4 separate regions of the Homo sapiens genome follow, and regions 2, 3 and 4 are each linked to region 1. The links are contacts of gene promoters, found by promoter capture Hi-C in blood cells and fetal thymus (Javierre and others, 2016). All regions are on one chromosome and are shown on one strand. The core of a region is centred on a gene start or on the middle of the fragment in contact, and the rest is flanking DNA. Distances in the headings are between cores, read along the strand shown. Region 1 holds the start of SNAPIN (SNAP associated protein). Region 2 has its middle 3.5 kb from the start of S100A9. Region 3 has its middle 4.9 kb from the start of S100A8. Region 4 overlaps RAB13 (RAB13, member RAS oncogene family).

Region 1 (2,700 bases), core at 199-2,698:
CTTGGGAGGCTGAGGTGGATGGATCGCTTGAGCCTGGGAGGTAGAGGCTGCAGTGAGCCTTTATCATGCCACTGCACTCCATCCTGGGTGATAGACCTTGTATCATAAAAATAAATAGCCAGGTGTGGTGGTTCACTCCTGTAGTCTCAGCACTTCGGGTGGCCAAGGTGGGAAGCTCACTTGAGCCCAGGAGTTCCAGACCAGCCTGGGCAACATGGAGAAACCCTACTTCTACAAAAAAATACAAAAATTAGCTGGGCGTTGTGCACGCTTGTAGTCCTAGTTACTCGGGAGGCGGAGGCAGAATTGCTTGAGCCCAGGGGGCGGAGGTTGCAGCGAGCTGAGATTGAGCCACCGCACTCCAGCCTGGGTGACAGAGGGAGACTGTCACACACACACACACAAGAATGTAAATGGCAGCAACTGAATAGTGAGAATGAGACGAATTTTCCTAGGTATTTTTCAAGTACTGGGAGAAGTGAATTTCCCTTTCCCCAAAGAATTTTAAAATTACAGTGGCTTTCACTGTGTTGAGGACTTACAAAAAAGGGCAAAGAATCACTGTTGGTAAGATATTCTTTTACCTGAGCATTCTGTAGAATGTTGTTAACCAAGACAACGCGTCGCCGGGCATTAAGTAGCTTCTTAACATAGGGGTCAAGATCCAGGGCCACCTTCTGATCCTCATTTATGCGGCACAGTTCTGGGGATGGAAGTAAGGTGCAGCTAAGATCTAACGGCTTATCTCTTGTTCTGAGGGAAAGCAGGCTGGTAATGGGATGGAAAACACTTGCACCCAAACGGGCCACAGCCATTAGAGATTTAAGACATCCCTGAAAGGAGGAGTCCTTTGGCAGCCCTGATGCCCTGGAAGCAAGTGACAGAAACTCAGCCCAGGGGTTGGCAAAAACCTAAGGTCCTGAAAGTGGGCTGAAGAATTCCGGGTACACAGGGATGCTCACTCACCTGTGGCTAGGTTGTCAATTTGTTCCCGGAGCTCTACCTGGCTCTCTCTGCAAAGAGGTACAAGGCCTACAAGGTCAGGCAGTTACCGGAGCTCAGGAAACGAACTCCCCTACGTATTTACCAAGTACTGAGAGAAGCCGGCCTCCGCTGAACCCTCCACCTGCGGCCTTCCCGCCTGTCCTCCCCGCCTCGAATCAGTTTCCTAAATTTATGCCCACTCCCAGCCAGAACACTTTCTTGGCCCCGCCCCTACAAAGCCAGAGAGACAGGCCCCGCCCCCAACTTCCCTCCCGGGCACCTGACGGCGTGTACGTGAGAGTCGAGCTGCTGCACAGCGGGTCGCAGGAACTCCAGCAGCCCTTCGGCGAAAAGGTCGCGGCCTGTGGGCCCCGCCACCGGGGTCCCTGCCCCCGATACAGCGGCGGAACCAGCCCCCGCCATCACGAATTGTCCTGAAGCCCGAAACCTGCCGCGAGGGCCGCCGGGAACCGGAGCCGCGCCGCACTGCCCCGCCCCGTGAGGGGGCGCCCGGGAAATGCTGTCTCCACCAAGACACCGGGGTTTCTGGGAAATGGAGTCTAGCGCGAACCGGGCGGGGAGGAGGGCCAGGCCGTAGGAGTAGAGGCCTTGTGGCTGGTCTTGAAAATCTCCAAAGTTCAGGTTGTAGAAAGGAACCAGTTTTTGGAGTGGATACTTTTCGTTTTCTTTAAAGGTGAAAATAAACGCGAATACCTGCAGTTGTCCATAGCCTTCCCATGTTAACTTTATGAGATAGCCGGGCATGGTGGCGGGCACCCAGCTACTTGGGAGACTGAGGCAGGAGAACCGCTTGAACCCGGGAGGCGGAGATTGCAGTGAGCCGAGATCGCGCCACTGCACTCCAGTCTGGGCAACAGAGAGACTCCGCCTCAAAAAAAAAAAAAAAAAAAAAAAAAGCAACCCAAACCAAACAAAAACAAACCAAAAACAAAAACACTTTATGAGAAAGCCACATTATATTCATAGTATCGTTTTCTATTTCTAAAGAGTTTATTGTGGTTGGTTGTTTTTAAGACAAGGTCTCTCTCTGTCGCCTAGGCTGGAGTGCAGTGCCACCGTCTTGGCTCACTGTAGCCTTCACCTCCTGGGGTCAAGAGGTCCTCCTGCTTCAGTCTCCCAAGTAGCAGGGACCACAGGTGTTAGCCACCATGCCTGACTAATTTTTCATTTTCTGTAGAGAAGAGGTCTCACTATGTTTGTTGCCCAGACTGGTCTCGAACTCCTGGGCTCAGGTGATCCTCCCAACTCAGCCTCCTAAAGTGCTGGGATTACAGACGTGAGCCACCACGCCTGGTCTATTTCTAAAGAGTATATTTTTAATGGCATTAAATATGTAAAAAACTGCATGTATCCGAATTTCATTCCTTTTTAAGGCTGAATAATATAAACATGCAGGCAGGGCATGGTGGCTCACTCCTGTAATCCCAGCACTTTGGGAGGCTGAGGCGGGAGGATCACCTGAGCCCAGGAGTTCGAGATCAGTCTGGGCAACAAACCTAGTGAGACTCTGTCTCTACAGGAAATAAAAAATTAGCCAGGCGGCCAGGCGCAGTGGCTCACGCCTGTAATCCCAGCACTTTGGGAGGCCGAGGCGGGTGGATCACGAGGTCAGGACATCGAGACCACGGTGAAACCCCATCTCTACTAAAAATACAAACAATTAGCCGGGCGCAGTGGCGGACTCCTGTAGTCCCA
Region 2 (2,700 bases), core at 47-2,546, 300 kb after region 1:
GCAGTCCCTGCACAGCCCCAGGCGCCCTTCCTGTGTGCTCCCATGGCGCCCTCTGCTGCCTCTGACAAAGCACTTCTCACTCAGGACCAAGGATCTCCAACTCACCCTTGCGGGAACCAGACCCAAGGTGAAGCTGGTGGGGCATGAGAACATCAACGGCAGCAGTAGGGCAACTTGTGGCCACTGATATGGGGCCTCAGGGTTGGGGACACTGGACAGTGGTGGCAACTGTGGGGAATGAGAACGTTCCTACCTTGAAGGGACAGCCAGTGTCAGGCCAGGGCTGCCACGTGGGAAAGTAGACCAGATGTTCTTGGACCTCCTGAGGGCCCAGGACATCTGAAGCTTTATATGAAAATTCCTGTTTAATACAATTTGTCCATTAATTTAAAATAAAAACAAAAAAAGCATGACAATGAAGCAGGGTGTGTGTGACTCAAACCCTGAGTGATGGTGTGCGGCAGGCATCTCTGCTTTGTCATGGAGCTCTCAACTTTCAGGTGGACTTTCTGATTCCTCCACACCACTGTGGCTCCTCTAGGCAGGGATGCTGCCTGCTACCCTCCAAAGTCTTAGCACCAGGCAAGGGCTGGCTCAGAGGCACTGGATGAACGCTTGTTGATTGAATAAATTCAGGAGTGCATGAATCAATGATGAAATGAGTGAATGTGACATAAACACTGGCCTGTCACCCTCTGTTCTGTGACTTTCTGCAGAGCCACTGACTGTGGTCATTTAGTGCTGATTCAGAATGAAAGTAAAATAGGGAGTTGGGGGAGAGAAGGCTCAGCAGTGGGTGGGAATGAGCAGCTGGTCAGGGTTTCAAAACAGACGGGAATCTGCACTTGGGGGATCTGATGCTGACAGTGGGCCCCCATCTTAGAAGGCCACTGCAGGCCCCCAGGTTCCAGGCTAGCCCAGGCGCAGGTGAGGCCAGGGCTGAGCCATTCTGGTTCTGACCGGAGCAGACAATTCCTGGCATGATCAGTAGGTGGCCGACACCCACCTGCCTCCTCACTGCCAGCCGAGGCCAGAGGTTGGACTGAGGGATGGTGGGATGGGGGTCTTCCCCTCTGGGTACTGATTTTCCAGGGAAAGTCGGAGCCTTCTGCTAGGGCATGAAGTGGGTGGGCCAATTTTCCTGGCTCTGTACAATGACTCGAGGTTTTCACTGGGAGAAAAGGGTGTGGCTTTTTGGGTTAAAAAACAAATAAGTGGCCGGGCACGGTGGCTCACGCCTGTAATCCCAGCACTTTGGGAGCACGAGGCGGGTGGATCACAAGGTCAGGAGTTCGAGACTAGCATGGCCAACATGGTGAAACCTCCATCTTTACTAAAGATACAAAAAATTAGCCGGGTGTGGTGGTGCGCACCTGTAATCCCAGCTACTCAGGAGGCTGAGGTAGGAGAACCGCTTGAACCTGGGAGGCAGAGGTTGCAGTGAGCCAAGATCGCGCCATTGCACTCTGGCCTGGGTGGCAGGGTGAGACTCCATTTCAAACAAACAAACAACCAAGCAAGTAAACAAACAAGCAGGCAGAGGTTCCTGCAGCTACCATCAAATCACTGTGCTCTTTCCCAGATGCCTGGGACCCACTGCGGGTCTGTCTTTCCCTTCTCTGCAGCTCCCACTGTGGTCTTTCAGGGAGCTTTACCCCTCCTGTGTTGTAATGGGGGTGTTACAGCAGGCACACAGTGGGACCCGGACTGAGGGACTGAGCTGGTTTTAGTCCTTAGCTTTCTCAGACTTGCTGGTGGTCTTTAGAAGTGATTTCCATGTTCGGGCCTCCATTTTCTTATCCATTACATGAGGAGATTGGGACAGCTGACCCTTAGGTCATTTCTAGCACAGATTCCAAGTTTTGATGGACTCTTGGTGGGCTTCATGACTACTACTAGCCTCATGGCCCCTGGACACTGTCTCCTGGCTTACTTGCTCCACCTGCAGGTGAAGTCAGGTCCCTCTCCTCACAGGGACTCTGATGCCTGAGGCCCAGCCCCACTCAGGCTGCGCACAGCCTGCTGCCTATTCCTCCACTCCCTGTCTTCCTCCTTGCTGGGAGTCCCAAGTGCTCTTCCTTGGAGATCTCTGGGTACGGGTCTCCTAACCACAAGCGCCCTAACATCCCCCATTTCCCCAGTGCTCATTCTAGACTCTAGTGCATTAGGATGACTTACAGAAGCTATCCACGGGTAGCTTCAGACCATTGTTCTACCACGTTTGGGCTCAGTCCACATCAAGCTTTGACCACCCCTGGCATCCTTGTGGCCTCCCTTGACTGGCCATCCTGAGGTCTCTGAGGCCCTCTGCTGAGAGCAGCCGCACTCCCTGCCCCCATGCTGGGCTGCTCCAGCATCCACAGTGAGGACCCTCCAATGATCTGGCTTCTTAGACATTCAACCTAAGCTTCCCCAAGTCTGGACCTCTCCCCCTGTCTCCACCTTGGCTGCCTCTGCTCATCATCCTCCTAATTTCTCAGACATGCCACCTTCAAAATTGAGAAAGCTGGCATTCCCTTTTGTTGCCTGGCTTCTGTTGCTCCAACCCTTTCTCCTCCCCGATCTCTTGGGAACCTGGCTTTTGCGCTCACTATGTCCCTAGGTTCCAGATCTCTGCAGAAATTTTTGGCGAGTATCTCAGCATCTGGCTTTTGGCATCCTCTGCTCTCAGGACTCCCTTTGAAGTCCACAGCCCTTTGT
Region 3 (2,700 bases), core at 115-2,614, 270 kb after region 1:
TCATCAGAATGTGGAGATGGGCTTCTGCTGGGGCAAGGAGGAAGGCCTAGGCATTAAATTACTTTCTTCTCAGTTTTGCTGAAGGATATCTATCCATCCTCCCAAGCCAGTGCTTCTGCTTAAGTCAGGAGTGTGGAATACACTCCGCATTGCAGAAACGGAGATTATGGAGCTCTGAGAGACACCACAGTGATCTTGCTATAGTTTTCTCCAATATATAGTGCAAAGGTGAGCAGCTGACCTGAATGTGGCCCAGGCTAAAAAAGGTGGGAAAGGTTCCAGGGTTCACCAAGCCACATCTCAGGTCAACTCAACATTTAGGGGAACTCACAAGAGAAAAGATAGTAACAGGAGTACAAAAAAGGAGCGAGTACCCTGATTCTGCCTTTCAGCTATCCACATTGGTGGTGGCAGTGGTGGTGGTGGGGTGTGTGTGTGTGTCAGGGTGGTGAGGGGCAACCTATCCCAGCGCCTTTGATTCCCCTTGAAAGTGCACTATTGGACTTGCTGTCAATGGATTCTTTTGGGGAGAGTTACTATTCTCAGTTGTCTGCCATTACTTGGAAGTCCAATAAGTCTTCTTTTTCTGAGCCTACCAGAAGAGGAAGGTGGCCCACGGTGCCCTTTGGAGTTTCACCATAAGTGATGGGTACTGGTTGTGAAGAATTGGGTCGACAGTTGATTCTTGAGTGCACAGTTGGGCAGGGGAGGTGGCCCAGCTGTCACTGGCCATCTGGAGAAGAGAAGTGAGAGAGGCAGGCCTTGGAAGCTTCCCAGAGGACGCAGGCTTGGAGATGATGATTTACAAACAAGACCGTGCCCATTACCGAAACCACACTGACTGGGCAGAATCAGACAGGACTTGTGGCCCAGAGCAAGATGACTTTGTTTCCTGTTTCCCCAGCTGCAAAAGAAGAACAAGGGAGTGGGAAGTTTAGAAATAAGTAGTTTAGCAGGAAATCGCATGCAACATTTGAGCCCACAAAGGAGTGCTTGGCTCACCAATTGAAGCAGATCTGGCAACTATGATTTCTGGGTCCTATAAGGATGACCTGTTTGAAGTCTTGCTTTTCCTTCCAAGTTCTTCGCCCAAGTGTCCTGACTTCAGGTGTGTTCCTGGTGGTTGTGACAAAAGTCTTAAAGGGCATGGAGAGAATCTGGACTTGGGCAGTCGGTCTACAGTGGCTGAGCAAAAGGCCTTATTCCAATGGAAAAGATTTTCCTGTTTATCCCTCCACTTGGGAACCAGAACAATTTTGATTGGGTCCAGAACCCAGCCCATTTTCTGCCCTCCTGCCTGGGGGAATTCAGTCTAAATTGAAATGGGCTGAAGAGGGGAGGGAAAGCTACCAACACTTACTGGGCTCCAGCTATGTGTCAGTGTGAAAGAAAAAAAATCATCTCAAACCTGGAAAAAGGCAAACTGATGATTGCTTATATTTTTGATCTCATGCTAGAGTCTGTCTGAAAAAAAGAAGGTCCTTGCTACTAGACCTCATCTGACACTTTTGAGAAAAGTGATCGGCAAAGCATGTTTGATAGCAATTCATAACAGATGATGTAGACAGTTTACCTCTGATGGATAGGGCAATATGGCTTTATAGGCTGGTCAAGACATTAAACCCAAAACTGTTATGGTTTGTTTTTGTCACCCTATGAAAAGTCAAAAGACTTGTATCTAGTCTTGTGTCTAAATTAAGAATCTTAGACATTACTTTCTAACTGTCTTTCATATTCTTAATATCTTTCAAACCAGTTCAAAAAAGTCTTCCTCACTGGTTCTCTCATTAATGAATTGAAACAAAAATTTTGACACAGGCCAATTATTTTGTTAATGATTTCGCTTTTTAGCTCAAGACATTGTGGTAACTTATCTCATTTCTCATAACAACCCTATGAGAGAGGTAACTACTATTTCCATTTTGTACATGAGTAGACTCAGAAACTTGACAAAGCTTATGAATCTGGCAAGTGGCAGAGGTAGAATCAGATCTCTACTGTCTCCAAGAAAGAGACCCTAATTAAAACATGAAGGTGCTCTCTTGTAGCCGTTTTCCACCCTGGGTGTGGATGGGACAGCCATTCCTCGCCTGCCTGCCTGGCCTCTTTCTCCTCATCCCCTATAGGGTCTCTGCTGTCCAGAGTGAGGAGTAGGGAGAGGAGGTACCAGATGAGCTTCTTTCTTGGGCCACTTTTCCTTGCCCAGGACTTTACCTGGCACACCTCAGGGCCTGAAGGACTGGTAGTTTTTTCCTGGTGTGAGCAATCCTCTAGGCAAAGATAATCTCCCTATGTATAGAGCAAGAGGATTGGGCATTTTGATTGCCCTAAACTCTTAGGGGTTGCCCCAGTAACAATTCTGTCTTCTTCCCTGGGCGGAGGAGCTTTCCTTCCAGTCTTAGATTTGGAAATTCCCCTGTGATCTAAAACACTGCTGAATCAGCCACCCATGTACTCAGGGCATCTCCATGCTGGAATAGTCAATCTGTGGCCTGTTGCCAATTTGAATGGGGCCCCAACAGCCATCGGTGGTTCTGATTGGAGAGTGATGGCCTCAATGCAGGTTACCTAGAACATAGACATAAAATCAGACAGATTTTAAACATGGTCAATGGTATGGGAAAGCAGGCTCATCATGCAGTTTACCTTGCCATGTAACTCATGGCTAAATCTGACACAGGCTTTGTACACTTCAACTAG
Region 4 (2,700 bases), core at 33-2,532, 320 kb before region 1:
TCTCCGACCTCAGCCTCCCAAGTAGCTGGGATTACAGGCGCCCGCCACTAGGCCGGGCTAATTTTTGTATTTTTAGTAGAGACGAGGTTTCACCATGTTGGCCAGGCTGGTCTTGAACTCCTGACCTCAGGTGATCCACCCGCCTCAGCCTCCCAAAGTGTTGGGATTATAGACGCAAGCCACGGCACCTGGCGTGTTTCCTCATTTTTAAAATAGAGACAATAATACATGTCTTACAAGGAAAGAGTAAGGATTAGATAAAATGATACATACACAGTGCTTGACACATAGCAAACATTCAATGAATAAGCAAAGACATCTTGTTTCTTGGGCCACTACCATCTCTGGAAATCAGCTCAACTGTCTTTAATCCCGTTCCCCTTTACTGTTTCCTTATTCTGTTGCCCCACCATGTTACAAAAGCTAAATTCTTGTGAGAGAGGAAGAATTATTCCGTTGGAGAATTCTTCCCTCTATTCCATCCCATGAAAACTTCTCCTTCTTTAGGGACACGGCTGGCCAAGAGCGGTTCAAGACAATAACTACTGCCTACTACCGTGGAGCCATGGTATGAAGTGTGGGTCTGAACAAAGGATGAAGGATGAGGCTACAGAATATATTATGAATACAAAGGGTCAGGGGTTGGGGCAGGTAAAAATGGGAGGGGTGCAGTGTGGGTTGCAGAGGGCCCAACATGGCCTAGTGTTTAGACCCATGGATGCGGGGTCACTTACAGGGCAGTGGGAAGCCTCAATGGGAACATGGTCCAAGGTGAATTTTGTCATCTCCCAGGGCATTATCCTAGTATACGACATCACGGATGAGAAATCTTTCGAGAATATTCAGAACTGGATGAAAAGCATCAAGGAGGTGAGGACCCTCCAAAAGAGATGGGGAAACTGGTTAGAACCTGGAGAATGAAGGGGTCCATCAGGATAGGCAAGACCTAACTTTTTTTTTTTTGAGATGAAGTTTTGCTCTTGTTGCCCGGGCTGGAGTGCAATGGCAGGATCTCGGCTCACTGCAACCTCTGCCTCCCAGGTTCAAACGATTTTCCTGCCTCAGCCTCCCAAGTAGCTGGGATTACAGGCATGCACCACCATGCTCGGCTAATTTTGCATTTTTAGTAGAGACGGGTTTTCTCCATGTTGGTCAGGCTGATCTTGAACTCCTGCATCAGGTGATCCACCCGCCTTGGCCTCCCAAAGTGCTGGGATTACAGGCGTGAGCCACCGCTCCCAGCCGGCAGGACCTAACTTTTACTTGTCTTTTGCCCCCAGAATGCCTCGGCTGGGGTGGAGCGCCTCTTGCTGGGGAACAAATGTGACATGGAGGCCAAGAGGAAGGTGCAGAAGGAGCAGGCCGATAAGGTGAGGGCCAGGCTGAGCAATGTTCTAGAACTGGGCTGGGAGGGCCAAGATAGGTTGCATTGCAGAGGACTTGGCTGCTGTCCTTAATTCAATTCTCTTCCCACTTCACCCCTTATAGTTGGCTCGAGAGCATGGAATCCGATTTTTCGAAACTAGTGCTAAATCCAGTATGAATGTGGATGAGGTGAGATCCACACCCCCATCCCCGACCAAGAGAGGAAGTATTAGAAGGTAGATTCTCCTCCCTCCAAACTGACTCTGTTCCCCACTTTAGGCTTTTAGTTCCCTGGCCCGGGACATCTTGCTCAAGTCAGGAGGCCGGAGATCAGTAAGTTGGTTTTGCTGGACTAGGTACAACTCTGGGGTGTGTGTGTGTGTATGTATGTGTGTGTGTGTGTGTGTGTGTGTGTGTGTGTTGGTGTTGATAAAAACGGGGAGCAATGCTAAGATTTCTCATGAGGGTGGATTTACTTTAAACAGTTTATACCCTCCTACCCTAACCATCCATTCACACCATGACACCTGTGCCCTTCTCCCTCTAGGGAAACGGCAACAAGCCTCCCAGTACTGACCTGAAAACTTGTGACAAGAAGAACACCAACAAGTGCTCCCTGGGCTGAGGACCCTTTCTTGCCTCCCCACCCCGGAAGCTGAACCTGAGGGAGACAACGGCAGAGGGAGTGAGCAGGGGAGAAATAGCAGAGGGGCTTGGAGGGTCACATAGGTAGATGGTAAAGAGAATGAGGAGAAAAAGGAGAAAAGGGAAAAGCAGAAAGGAAAAAAAGGAAGAGAGAGGAAGGGAGAAGGGAGAGGAATGAATTGAGGAAGTGAAAGAAGGCAAGGAGGTAGGAAGAGAGGGAGGAGGAAAGGAAGGAGAGATGCCTCAGGCTTCAGACCTTACCTGGGTTTTCAGGGCAAACATAAATGTAAATACACTGATTTATTCTGTTACTAGATCAGGTTTTAGGGTCCTGCAAAAGGCTAGCTCGGCACTACACTAGGGAATTTGCTCCTGTTCTGTCACTTGTCATGGTCTTTCTTGGTATTAAAGGCCACCATTTGCACAAATGTTCCTGTTTTGGGTAACTTGGATTATTGTCAGAATTGTTCTCCACTCAAATCCAATTATTGTGTCTTCAAAGTGATTGATTTACCCAAATCAGGCTCGGTTTCTGTGGAACCAGGACTAATCCTACTGCTGTCTCTTCCCTAGCTGTTCTGTTGGTAAGGAAAATAGCAAAGAGCAGGAGGTAGAGTGATCTGAAGGTCTGGATATCCTCTTTCCGCCATGGGGTCCGGATGCCCTTGTGGGCAGAGCCTTGTCCTGAGC

The links. Contacts are between HindIII fragments. The CHiCAGO score rates a contact against its expected background, and 5 or more counts as called.
Region 2: a fragment that was not itself captured here is called in contact with the fragment with the promoter of SNAPIN in region 1 in 1 of 17 cell types (M0 macrophages); the score reaches 5.5 in M0 macrophages.
Region 3: a contact is called between a fragment that was not itself captured here and the fragment with the promoter of SNAPIN in region 1, in 2 of 17 cell types (M1 macrophages and M0 macrophages). The highest score is 5.4, in M1 macrophages.
Region 4: a fragment that was not itself captured here is called in contact with the fragment with the promoter of SNAPIN in region 1 in 12 of 17 cell types (fetal thymus, M2 macrophages, neutrophils and 9 more); the score reaches 9.3 in fetal thymus.

What each region holds. Positions count from the first base shown.
Region 1 is chr1:153,657,451-153,660,150 of GRCh38, reverse strand. It overlaps SNAPIN (SNAP associated protein), which reads right to left and starts at 1,448. Exons shown (of 4, transcript NM_012437.6): 1 at 1,265-1,448; 2 at 967-1,013; 3 at 585-703. The coding sequence starts at 1,407. RefSeq lists an enhancer at 1,603-1,682. The HindIII fragment of the contact is 14,460 bases long and covers 1-2,700 here.
Region 2 is chr1:153,353,016-153,355,715 of GRCh38, reverse strand. No RefSeq gene overlaps it. Among named protein-coding and RNA genes, the nearest start is that of S100A9, 3.5 kb to the left of the region's middle. RefSeq lists a silencer at 1,916-1,965. The HindIII fragment of the contact is 1,897 bases long and covers 348-2,244 here.
Region 3 is chr1:153,384,836-153,387,535 of GRCh38, reverse strand. No RefSeq gene overlaps it. Among named protein-coding and RNA genes, the nearest start is that of S100A8, 4.9 kb to the left of the region's middle. The HindIII fragment of the contact is 1,186 bases long and covers 772-1,957 here.
Region 4 is chr1:153,981,389-153,984,088 of GRCh38, reverse strand. It overlaps RAB13 (RAB13, member RAS oncogene family), which reads left to right. Exons shown (of 8, transcript NM_002870.5): 3 at 508-568; 4 at 793-870; 5 at 1,281-1,370; 6 at 1,489-1,554; 7 at 1,645-1,698; 8 at 1,913-2,439. The coding sequence ends at 1,990. Among named protein-coding and RNA genes, the nearest start is that of RAB13, 3.6 kb to the left of the region's middle. The HindIII fragment of the contact is 3,017 bases long and covers 1-2,700 here.